Regions from separate parts of the Homo sapiens genome. Here regions 1 and 2 are each linked to region 3. Evidence: promoter capture Hi-C in 16 types of primary human blood cells and fetal thymus (Javierre and others, 2016). All regions are on one chromosome and are shown on one strand. The core of a region is centred on a gene start or on the middle of the fragment in contact, and the rest is flanking DNA. Distances in the headings are between cores, read along the strand shown.

Region 1 (4,065 bases), core at 269-2,768, 540 kb before region 3:
CCTTTATTTTATCTTTCATGTGGGCTAATGTGAGGATAATCTTACAGATATTATAGGAATTTCTTTTCTATCTTTATGAAAACAACGTATATAAAATATATCTAGAAAACCTTTGTTTGAGACTCTTATTTAATGGGCTTTTGATTCTAATGATAATTGTACCTTTATCTTTCAAAAGCTGATATTTCCTACCTAAGCATCTCCCGAGAAAAATATCTCATTAAAAAGCCCATAAATAATAGGGGAGAAGAAAGCCTTAGGTATCAATTCCAAAACAGTGATTGAAATTTCCCAAAATAATTATGGCTTCTGTCATCTCCAGAGATAATCTGGCTTGGTTTACCCCATAATCTAATTTCAGAAAAGAAAGCTTTATTTTAACACTCATCTGAATCAACATTAAAGCCTTTTCTCTCAAAGCGTTTATTGAGAAACTCAAATGAATATACTTTTTGAATTACTGTCATCAAAAGTGTACGGCTTCCTGTGCTGCTTGTGTCAAATGGAACCTGCCCTCTAAAGCACTTTCTTTCCTTTACTTGCGTGGTTTCATGTAAGCTGTGCTGTTTAGAAACAACATCTCAGACTTTACAAAGAAATGACAAAGAAGGCAATTGCACTTTTTAAGGGATATCGACAAGCAGTTTCTGTTTTCTAAAGGACAAAATACAGAGTGTGTGTCATTTTTAATTAGATTCTTTCCCCTGCTGAGTTGGAAATTCCAGTGCAGCACTGATTGACCACAGTTGCCAATCTAAAAGCACAAAGACAGAAGTAAAGCTTTATGCTAATTTTATTTCAATATGATAGAAAATTTATCTTGGTATGTCCTTTTTTAGATAACTCCAGCAGGAAACTGTAACTGCTATGTCTTTAGGAAAATGTAGAAGAAAGAACATTATTGTTCTTTAATTCCTACAAGGTACTCGAAAACCTTAAGTGAAAAAGATTTCTATCTTTTTATCTTAGCGCATTTATGGAAAAAATATTAACTATCCTGAATATTTTATAATTTTGTAGGAAAAATATGCATCTATTTTTTCTTGACTTCTTTTATATAGTAATAAAAGTTATTTTGGAAGCTCTTTGTGTGTTATCAATTTGTCTGGGGTAGCAGGGGTAGGCATTGTTGTGAAAGTTTCTTTGCCATGGTTTTTGGTTTGTTTATTTTTCAGCAGAGATAGTCTTTTTTCAGTTTCTTGATTATGTTAACTGAAAAGCCAGACTCTGTAATGTATAATACATATTTTATAATATTTACTATTAATATTATATATTTATATATAATATTTACTATAAATATCATATATTTATATATAATATTTACTATAAATATCATATATTTATATATAATATTTACTATTAATATCATATATTTATATATAATATTTACTATTAATATTATATATTTATATATAATATTTACTATTATTATATATTTATATATAATATTTAATATTTTATATATATAAAATTTTTCGCAGTAAAGAGTTTAATTAATGCAAAGCAGCCAAGCAGAAGGACTGGAGTTATCACTCAAATCAGTCTTCCTGAGGGCTCAGAGGTTAGGGTTTTTCAATGATAGTTTGGTGGGCAGGGGCAAGGGAATGGATGCTGCTGATTGGTTGGGAATGCAATCATAGGTGTGTAGAAAACAATCCTCATGCACTGAGTCCCCCTCTGGAGGAGGGCCACAGGACCAATTAAGTCATGAGTCACAAGTCCAGATGGGGTCAGCTCTTCACTACCTGACCAATCTTAGGTTCTACAATAGTGATGTTATCTATAGGAGCAACTGGGGAAGTCACAAATTTTGTGACCTCTGGCCACTTGACTCCTGAGCAGTAAGAGATTAGAGAAACTGATGCAGGTCAGGGGAGCCCCAACGTGGAGCTTAGCCCATGTAGGTTTTTGGCTTTGCCCAGGAAAGAATTCAAGAGCAAGCCAGAGGTGGAAGAAAACAGCTTTACTGAAGAGGCAGTGTTACAGCACCATGACTGCTCCTGTAGAGCAGTGCTACCCCCTAGGCAGAGAGTAGCCTGTAAAATATTTTAAAGAGGTTTATTCTGAGCCAATACAAGTGTCAATGACCTGGGGAACACAGTCTCAAGAGGTCCTGAGAAAGTGTGCCCCAGCAGTCGGAATTACAGTTTGCTTTTAGATATTTTAGGGAAGCAGGAGTTATAGGGAAAGGCATAAATCAATGCATGGAAGGTATGCAGTGGTTTGCCCCAAAAAGGTGGGATAACTTGAAACAGAAGCTTAGTTTATAGGTGGATTCAGAGACTCTTTAATATGCAATTGGTTAAAGGAATAGAGCTCTGTCTAAAAATTTGGAGTTGGCCGGGTGCAATGTCTCATGCCTGTAATCCTAGCACTTTGGGAGGCTGAGGTGTGAAGATCACTTAAGCCCAGGAGTTTAAGACCAGCCTGGGCAACAAAGTGAAACCGCATCTCTAAAAAAACAAAATTAAGAAGTTATCTAGGTGTGGTGGCATGTGCCTGTAGTTCCAGCTACTCAGGAGGCTAGGGTGGGAGGATCACTTAAGTCCAGGAAGTCAAGGCTGCAGTGAGCCATGATCATGCTACTGCACTCCAGCCTAAGTGACAGAGCAAGACTCTGTCTCAAAAAATAAAAATAAAAATAAAAAAATAAAAAAAAATTTGGGAGTCAACAGAAAGGAATATTTATGGAATAGCAAATTATTCTACGTAGTGGTTCTCTGCTAGGTTTAAGACAAATTTCTGCCCTGTAATAGCTACAATAAGGTCATGAGGATCTGGTAAAACATACTCAAATATCCTACCCAACTTTCTACACCTTGCTGAATTCAGCATCTCCTCTAAAACTCAGATTTTAGAGCTTTTCAGCTCCTGCTTCATCTCCTTTGCCCCTGCTCCCACCACGCCTCAGTCTGGGTGGAATGTTTCTCCTCACAGCATTCAAAGAACTTGGTTCCTGCCTCTAGCCCATCTTTTTTTTTTTTTCAGTTGCAAGATTTAATAGAGTGAAAACAGAGCTTCCATAAAATGGGAGGGGACCCAAAGGGGGTTGCCGTTGCCGGCTCGAATGCCTGGGTTTATGTCCCAATCATTGTCCCTTCCCCTGTGCTCTCACGTGATAGATGATTGGCTATTTCTTTACCTCCTGTTTTAGCCTAATTAGCATTTTAGTGAGCTCTCTTTACTACCTGACTGGTCTGGTGTGAGCTAAGTTGCAAGCCCCGTGCTTAAAGGTGGATGCAGTCACCTTCCCAGCTAGGCTTAGGGATTCTTAGTCAGCCTAGGAAATCCAGCTAGTCCTATCTCTTAGTACCACCTCTCAACAGGAAAACCCAAGTGCTGTTGGGGAGGTTGGCCAAAGACCGCTCTAACTGCTTCCTGCTGAATTGGGACGTAGTAGGGGTCGTGCAATTGAGATTTCCTCGGGAGGCGTGCCTTCGATGTCATTAACATCAGAGCATGGGCTAGCAGGCCGGTCCAGGGGTCCACGGTAGATCTTAGTCATGGACTGCTTCTGGGGCTCCATTTGAAGAACGATTTGTAGTTTTACAGCTTCGATTCTGGAAGAGACAAACTTAACAAGGAGGTTAAAGATACAGGGATTGAAATGTATGGCCTGCAGTGCAGGAGATTATTTCTTTGGCACACTTCACAGGCCCTGACTATCTGCTTGATAGTTTTGAAAAGGCCTGGTCCCATAAATAATGATTTGGCCATCTGATGGGTGCTATCAATGGCTAAGTGAAAGGTTTGGTGAAGGGTTTTAAGTAATTTCCATTGGTTAGCTGCAGGCAAAAGTATTTTCCCTTCTTTGGTGGCTAGCCATCCTGAGGGGAGGAAACTATGTCCCCGTGAGGTTCCCCATTCTATTTCTCCTGCTGAGTACAGAGGGGATTACCCCACACTAGGGGTCCTTCTACAAGCATTTCTAATGGAGGGTCCCACCTTGTGGCTCTTTTGGCTTCAATATCCACTTGGCAGTTCCCTTCCGATGACCCCGACAGTGTAAGACTGCCACCTCTTTAGGTTTCTGTACAGCTAATAATAATCTCCTAATGGCTT
Region 2 (4,010 bases), core at 1,330-3,829, 520 kb before region 3:
CTTGAGCCCCGGAGTTCAAGGTCAGCCTGGGCAACAAGCGAGAACCCCATCTCTTAAAAAAAAAAAAATCCTGTGATGTTTGGCAAACACAGACCCCTGGTTAAAGGCTAGACCGCTGCGATCTTCCAGCTGACAGACCATAGCCCACAGAATCGAGAGTCTCTGGGTATGATGAAGCATCTCTTCCAATGTGGCCAAATACATTTCCCCATTAGGTCTCTAACTCTTTCAGCCCCAGAGAAGTGCTGGCTTCCATAAATAAAATTTCACTCCTTTTGGAAGATGAGTGTTCCTAGGGGTGATTGCCCTAGAACACTGGATGTACTTCAGGTCCCAACTCAACAAGCCTGTGCCCCTCACTGGCCAAGAGCCCACAGCATTGCCTCTGAATTTTCTCTAGAGTTTCATCGCAATGACTAGCTGGTCACTCTTCTGGTAGAAGTGGGGACCCCAGGAGAGGACTCCAAGTATCACTTGGCTTTCCTGATGACACTTAATGTCCCCTTTCTTTTAGTGGTAACAAAATCTAACTATTTAACAACCCTTGTTGTTAAAGAGGATCCCATCTTTGCCACCTCTTTTTCATCTTCTGTCTTCTGAGGATGGGTCTGCCAGATGTGTTCTCTGGACTTTTAGGAAATTGAATTTGGAGGAAAGGGAAGAAGATTGAGGACAAGAAGCACTCAGGTTAGTGGTGGTAGAGAAATTTCTCAGAGAAAACCCCTGCTTTTATCTGAGCACATGGCCTCCCAGAATCTCCAGCTTCCTTTGCAGCTAGGTGTGACCATATTAGCCAGATGACTAGGTTTTGGCCAATGGAATGCAAGTCAAAATAATGTGTATAACTTCTGGGTTATGCCTTTAAGATGAAGGGATATGATTCTCTTCTTTCGCTTTTTCTGCCAGCAGGAATATGGGAGTGGGAGTGGGTCATCTTGTTCATGAAGATAAAGGCAGCATCCAACACATCACAGAACAAGAGAGAAGAAACCTAAGCCCTTGACTACCTAGCAAAAGAAAGCCGCCATGTTTTCCCATGAGAGGAATAATCTTCTCACATGTTAAAGCCATGGATACCATTTCTTACATGCTTGAGTGGATTTCCACCCAATGTCATATCTGTCTCAGGCTCTGGGCCCTCTTGGCACCGCCTATCCCACTGTAATTAACTAGGCCAAGTTTAGGATAGTGCAAGGTACAATTTGTTCTACACTTTTTCTCTTGCTCCCCACCCTGTGGTTCTTAGACTATTTTCTCTATGAAAAGCATTACACAATGTTTTTTCCCTCCTTCTGTTCTCTGCTCTAAGCTTTCAGTCAATCAGTCACTCTCTCCCCCTCTCTCTAAGGCTCTTATTAAGCTCACCACCACCTTTGTACTGCTGGCATCTATTAAGGCTGCAATTCTGTGGTTCTGCTGCTCATTCCCAACTGACTTGTTACACAGTCAAATGGGGCAATTTATCCCCTTCAGAAAACTCCATGTCTTCTTCCATAGGAAAAGGACAGGCTCTCTCACATAAAACCACTGGAAAGATTACTTTCTCAAGGAAAACAAACACATTCTCGCTGTGATGTCTCATGACACAGCCACTCTTGGAAGAACTAACTGGATCTCAACAGGACAGATCCAAAGACCGAAACCAGCCCCACCCCATCCCCATAGGAAATCTTCTTATGGGGGATAAAGGGTCACTTGCTCAAGTCAGAGAAAATGGTATCTCCCTAAAGAGCAATCGACAGTCCAGCCAAGCTGTTGGCATGAGAAAGAGGCTGTGAGAATTACAGCAGCATCTTCCCAAGACAGCGGGGCATGGCCATGGGAACGCCAGGAATAAGCTATATTTGGAGAAATTGCCTTGTGTTTGGTATTAGGAGGTTTTGTCAGCAGATACCAGGACTCTGGGCATCAGGCAGAAGTTTAAAGACAGGATTTCAGGCCCTGGAGTAGTGATTCTTGACTGGAGGTTATTTTGTCTCCCCAGTACCTCAATGGCAAAATACCTCAATGGCACAGTAGGGTAAAGACATGGAAATAGGGCTGGGCATGGTGATGCATGCCAGTAATCCCAGCACTTTGGGAGGCCGAGGTGGGAGGATCGCTTGAGCATGGAAGGTTGAGGCTGCAGTAAGCCACATTGGCACCACTGTTTACTCTAGCCTGGGTGACAGAGTGAGATCATACTCAAAAACAACAAAAAAGAGAGATCAGAATGCTTATGACCAGAGGCAACTTGGCCAGGGCCTCCAGCAGCCCCACATCCACTTCTCACCCATCTGACTTGGCCTCTTCAGGGCTGAGTGTTTAAAATCTCTGAGGCCCACTCAGAACACACCAGATAGAAAGCTCTGCTATTGCCTTTTGGCTGGAACCTCCGTCTTCCAGTAATTCGCCAAAATGATGAACACGGGAAAAGAGGAGAGGCACCAGATATATGTTCTCTAGGCCTTTTAGAAAACATGGGGTTTTTCCTTTGGCCACGTATATGTGAATCTATGAGAAAGGTGATATTGTAGACATCAAGAAAATGGATACTGTTCAAAAAGGAATGCCCCACAAATGTTAACCATGGCAAAACTGGGAGAGTCTACAGTGTTCCCCAGCGTGCTGTTGGCATTGTTATAAACAAACAAGCTAAGGGCAAGATTCTTGCCAAGAAAATTAATGTGCATATTGAGCATGTTAAACATTCTAAGATCCCTGATAGTTTCCTGAAACACATGAAGGAAAATGATCAGAAAAAGAAGGAAGCCAAAGAGAAAGCTACCCGGGTTCAGCTGAAGTGCCAGCCTGCTCCACCCAGAGAAACACACTTTGTGAGAACCAGCGGGAAGAAGCCTGAGCTGCTGGAACCTATTCCCTATGAATTCATGGCTTAATAGATGTTTAAAATATCAAAGACCTCTGGACTGTAAAAATGTTTCTCTTCATTGAGTAGAAGTGTGGTGTCATCTCCCACAAAGATACATTTAAAGCAAATTTTAATTGTGTCCTAATTCATTGTGTAATATCTTTACTATTCTAATTTAAAGTTTTTCTTGCTGAAAGATGTGAGGTAGCTTATTGTGCAACAAATTACTCAATTGGTTAGAAAACGGGCAGATGTTATTTATGAACTGTTTGTACTGGTTTGAAGATAGTCCCTCTAAATCATCATGGGGCTGGGCGTAGTGGGTCGCACCTGAAATCCCAGCTCTTTGGGAAGCCCAGGAGGGCGGATCACTTGAGGCCAGGAGTTTGAGACCAGCCTGGCCAGCATGGCAAAGCCCTGTCTCTACTAAAAATATAAAAATTAGCTGGGCGTGGTGGCACATGCGTGTAATCTCAGCTACTGTGAGGCTGAGGCATGAGAATTGCTTGAACCCGAGAGGTGGAAGTTGCAGTGAGCTGAGATCACACCACTGGACTCCAGCCTAGGTGACAGAGCAAAACTCTATCTCAAAAAAAAAAAAAAAAAAAAAAAAAAAAAGAATTTTGGAAGAAATAAAATAATTTATAAAAAAAGACAGCTCTGCTATTATCACTAAATATATTTAATTACTAGCTATAATTTTTCCAACAGAGAAAACACCAGGCCTAGTTAGTTCAAAAGGTAAGCACAACCAAACATTCAAGAGATCAGTGCAATCATATGTGAAGTCTTGCAGAGAATAGAAAAAGAGAGATGAGCATCCAACTCATTATATAAGGCTAGTGTAATTTTGATACTAAAACCAGATAAAGACCTGGAAAAGAAACGTTCAAGCCAGTGTAATTTATTTGAAAATCCTTTTAAAAATTTAGCAAATCAAATCAGCAATGTATAAAGAAGTTAATCTATTGTGACCAAGATAGTTTATTCCTACAATAAAAGCTTAATTTCACATTAGAGTAATTTACCACATTATCAGATTAATGAAAAAATATTATTAGCTCAATAGATACAAAAAACAGCAATTGATTAAATCTAGTCATCAATGATTTTAAAAATTCTTAGTAAATGAAGGCTAAAAGGAAACTATCTAACATGA
Region 3 (3,846 bases), core at 1,003-3,502:
CTGCAGGTGTGAGGCGGATCCCGAGGTCTGGTGGTACCAGGGGTAGTTGCCCAGAAAAGCCGAGGCCGCGCTGCTCGGGCTGGAGCCCGAGCTGCCGGCGCCGCTGCCGCCACTGCCCGGACCACCGCCGCCCGCCATCCGCTGCGGCACACCAAAGTCCCAGGAGGCCGGCGCTGAGACTGGCGGCGAAGCACAAGGTGGAGAAGCGCTGGCCCCAGGGTGCTGCTCCGAGGGGATCTCACCACTTTTCCACATCTTCTTGAACTTGGACCGGCGGTTCTGGAACCAGATTTTGACCTTTGAGGAAAAAGACCTGAGCATTAGTGGAGGAACCTAGTCTTGGGGCAGTAGGGGTTCGAAGAGGAGAAAAAAGAAGGCAGAGAAAAACCGCTGGCTAGCGGTGGGCAGCGAGCGCCCTGGGGAGATAAGAGGATCACGGGCGGCGGCCTTCGAGGCTCTGCCGGTTCCTGCTCCCTGGGGAGGTAATTGCCAAAAGGCCAGGACTGCTGGTGTACGTGCACTGTGATGATGGTGACAGCGGGAGGGTGAGGAGGGCCAGTTATTTCACCCGCTTAATCAGTAGCGAGAGGTACGGGATTTCTGTCCACCCGGTCCCTTTCCTTCCCTCCCACGGCGGCCCCTTGGGGGTTTCCAGCTTTGGGCCTAGAAGCTTACTTAGGGCCGCTCGAGGCGCAGGCCTGGAAATCCTTAAAAGTACTTAAAATGAACTTTAAAAAGCATTGTCCTAAACCCGCCTGCTTCCCAGCCATCTCAGGCCCGCGCTCTCCTCGCCCCTGCAGGGCGCGAGCCCCACCTGAGTCTGGGTGAGGCCCAGAGAGGCCGCCAGCTCGGCTCGCTCCGGCAAGGCCAAGTATTGAGTCTTTTGGAAACGCCGCTGAAGAGCCGCCAGCTGGAAACTGGAGTAGATGGTGCGGGGTTTCCGGACTTTCTTTGGCTTCCCGTTCACTATCCGAATTTCAGGCTCAAGGTCCTCCTTCTCTGCAACGATAAAGAATCGTAAGAACAGCGCAACCCAGGGGTCCTGGAGTTCCCGCCCTCCTAGAGGGCCCGGCGGGGGGGACTTGGCTTGAGCAAAGAGGTGGGTGCACTGAACTGTGGCGCCACGGGCAGGCGCAACTTCGCAGCGTGCGATCGGAGCCGCCACCGACCCCGGGAGCTGTACCCTCCAGGGAAGGGGGAGACAAGTGCACACCCAAGAGAAAGAAGCTGGTGGCAAGGAGATGCCCTTATGAGGCAGGCAGAGCACGCCCACTTGGCTCTTGAGGCCACCAGGTCCTACCAAAGGAGAGAGGGACGTAACCGGCGACCTGCGGCAGATTGGAGGCTGGGGAGGGTAAAGGGCACAAGCGGGCGGTGAGCAGGCAGCGTGAAAATCCAGAGCTTTCGAAGGCCCCCCGCCCCAAACACGTTTACCCATCCATCCCATTAACTAGACCGACTCGGCACTCTTGACTTCAGCGTTATGCATACCAGGCTCGTTGTTGGCTGGGGACGAACTGGTTCCATAGGGAGCGTAGGAGGTGTAGGCGGCGGTGTAGCCCAGGTCATAGCTGCTCTTGGCGGAGTAAGGGACGTTGTTGAGGCCGCTGGCTTGGTACTGGTAGGAACCCATGTGCGCGTAGGGCGAGCCCCCGCCGCCGCCGCCGCCCGCCGGGTGCTGCTGGTTGGTGTAGTAGCTGCTGTCGGTGGCGGTGGACACCGGAAGGGTGGGCGACTCCTGGGGCTTGTGGAGGCTGCTGCTGCTGCTGCTGTTGCCACCCGGGCCGGCGCCGCCGCCGCTCGGGGGCTGCTGGTGCTGGTGGTACGTGCTGGAGGCGGCGATCTGGGTCGAGTGCATATCAGCCACTAGACTGTCAAAGACTCCAGTCATCCTGGCCCGAGACGGGAAAGAGCAGAGGTGGCGGGCGTGCGGGGGAAGCCAGGCGCCTCCTCTGTCTCTCCCGGTCCCCTCCAGCAGCCAATGTAATTACGGGGGTGGTGGTGGGGAAACAAGAAAGGAGGCAACCGTCTAGGCGCCTCCTCCTCCGGGGGAGGCGATCACCGTGCGCTGCTCGGGACAGCTGCCTCTGGTCGCATCCTCTTTCGGCCTCTGGGCCCGCTCGGCTCCTTGCCCAGCGCGAGCGCGGGCTCTGGCGGGGGGCGGGCAGTGGAGGGGGCAGGGGTGGCTGGGCCGGGTCGGGGCTCTGGGAGGCGGGAGCAGGTGAGCGGCCCCGAGCGGCTTTACGATTGTCTGCCAGGCGGGCTCCTGAAGTGTGGGCATTTAACACTCGTCACGTGAGCGCTGGCGACGTCACCTAGCAACAGCCAATCAGAAGCAAACGGCCGCGGAGCTCCGGGAACGCCCGGCCAAGGGGCGGGCGTCACATGGTGGGCGCTGTGGCTGCGGCTGCGGCTGCAGCGGCCCCAGGTGCAAACAGACTGCCGCCGAATGTGAGCAGCGAGGCGAGGGGTCGAGGTAGCGAGGAGTCAGGGTGGCCCGCAGCAGGAAGACAGAAGGCGTGGAGACAGACTGGCGTTTTGCCTCAGAGGAAGAAGTGGGGTCCCCTCTCCCATTCTGTGAGCAAGTGCCAGTTCCAGTGATTCGTACTTTCATGTCCGAGGTCAGTTTTCAAACACATTAAAGTACATCGGTGCCCAGAGTCCAGCCAGCTCTATCTTCACTTTTCCTCGAAGTGTCTGGCATTTATTCTTGTTAGCCACTCGGCACTTGACATAATCAATTGATTTAATTATCCACAAACCACGTGTAATGCTCGCTTCTTAACCAATCCGCAGGGATATTAGGACAATTAATCATATAATATTGAAACGGGTTTTCCTTGTTGCTTCAAAGAGAAGCTACATAAACTTAAAGGTATTATTGCTAATAGTATATTTGAAACCACTTTCCCTGGTACTTTCCCGACACGCGAGACTCTGAGTAATTATATACGTTTGATAAGTAAATGACACCCTGAAAGCCATCCCGAGGACTTCCTCCTTCGGGTGGAAAGGTTCACCAGTTGTCCTTGAAAATTCGATGCTCTTGCGAAAAAGGAAATAGGATAATAGGTGAGATTATAGATTTATCAAGTAGATACTAGATTTATCACTTCTCTGTAAATTTACAACAAATATAAAAAGTTTTATCTGGTTTGTTGAATTTAATCCTGTTTTACAGTTTTGCATTTTAGGACCCTGTTCTACCCTATCATTGCAATTTTTTTCTTTTCCCTCTGTTTTTTAAAAAATCGGAAATGGTGACTTCCTCTGTCTCTATAACCTTGTAGTTGGAAACCTTGGCCCGACGGTGATGGACTGCACGACTTGCTGGACTCCCAAGTCCGAAGTTCCTGCGGCAGCGCTTGCTTTGTGGCGCCACCTGGTGGGCAGTGTGCGAGGTTGCGGGGGGCGGGGTAGACGGTCTAATCACGCCCAGGCGCCAGCCTCTGAAACCCCCCAAAAGAACAAAATAGTAATTAAAAGCCACAAAATTGTGCTAGTGCGCACCATCTGAAGCACCCTTTCCTAAAGACATAACATGTCGCTGAAAGAACTTGTTAAAACAACTGTCTGATAGAAAACAAGTTGATACCTTCAAAAATATGATCTTTGGTCTTCTTCCCCATAAAAAGCAAGTGTGTAATTAAAACTCCAGCATTCACACAGAGAAATAATGAGATAGGTAATGCGCCTTTAAGTCTACCTGGATTTAGTTCCCAGCTTTTTTTTGGTTAAGGAAGGCCCCTAGATGGAAAGCGCCAGCTTATGAGAAACGTTGGAGGTGGAGCTCACCTCCACCCACCTGCATTGCTTTATGCGGTTCTCTGCCTACTTTGTGGGCCT

Evidence for each region. Contacts are between HindIII fragments. The CHiCAGO score rates a contact against its expected background, and 5 or more counts as called.
Region 1: a fragment that was not itself captured here is called in contact with the fragment with the promoter of DLX2 in region 3 in 1 of 17 cell types (megakaryocytes); the score reaches 5.1 in megakaryocytes.
Region 2: a contact is called between a fragment that was not itself captured here and the fragment with the promoter of DLX2 in region 3, in 1 of 17 cell types (monocytes). The highest score is 5.9, in monocytes.

Annotation. Positions count from the first base shown.
Region 1 is chr2:171,557,049-171,561,113 of GRCh38, forward strand. CYBRD1 (cytochrome b reductase 1) reads left to right here. Exons shown (of 4, transcript NM_024843.4): 4 at 1-1,081. Among named protein-coding and RNA genes, the nearest start is that of CYBRD1, 37 kb to the left of the region's middle. The HindIII fragment of the contact is 1,481 bases long and covers 779-2,259 here.
Region 2 is chr2:171,584,696-171,588,705 of GRCh38, forward strand. It overlaps the pseudogene RPL21P38. Among named protein-coding and RNA genes, the nearest start is that of CYBRD1, 64 kb to the left of the region's middle. The HindIII fragment of the contact is 2,544 bases long and covers 1,308-3,851 here.
Region 3 is chr2:172,100,648-172,104,493 of GRCh38, forward strand. It overlaps DLX2 (distal-less homeobox 2), which reads right to left and starts at 2,253. Exons shown (of 3, transcript NM_004405.4): 1 at 1,492-2,253; 2 at 815-999; 3 at 1-297. The coding sequence starts at 1,891. It overlaps DLX2-DT (DLX2 divergent transcript), which reads left to right and starts at 2,359. Exons shown (of 5, transcript NR_126376.1): 1 at 2,359-2,621; 2 at 3,291-3,385. RefSeq lists a silencer at 2,055-2,254. The HindIII fragment of the contact is 7,057 bases long and covers 669-3,846 here.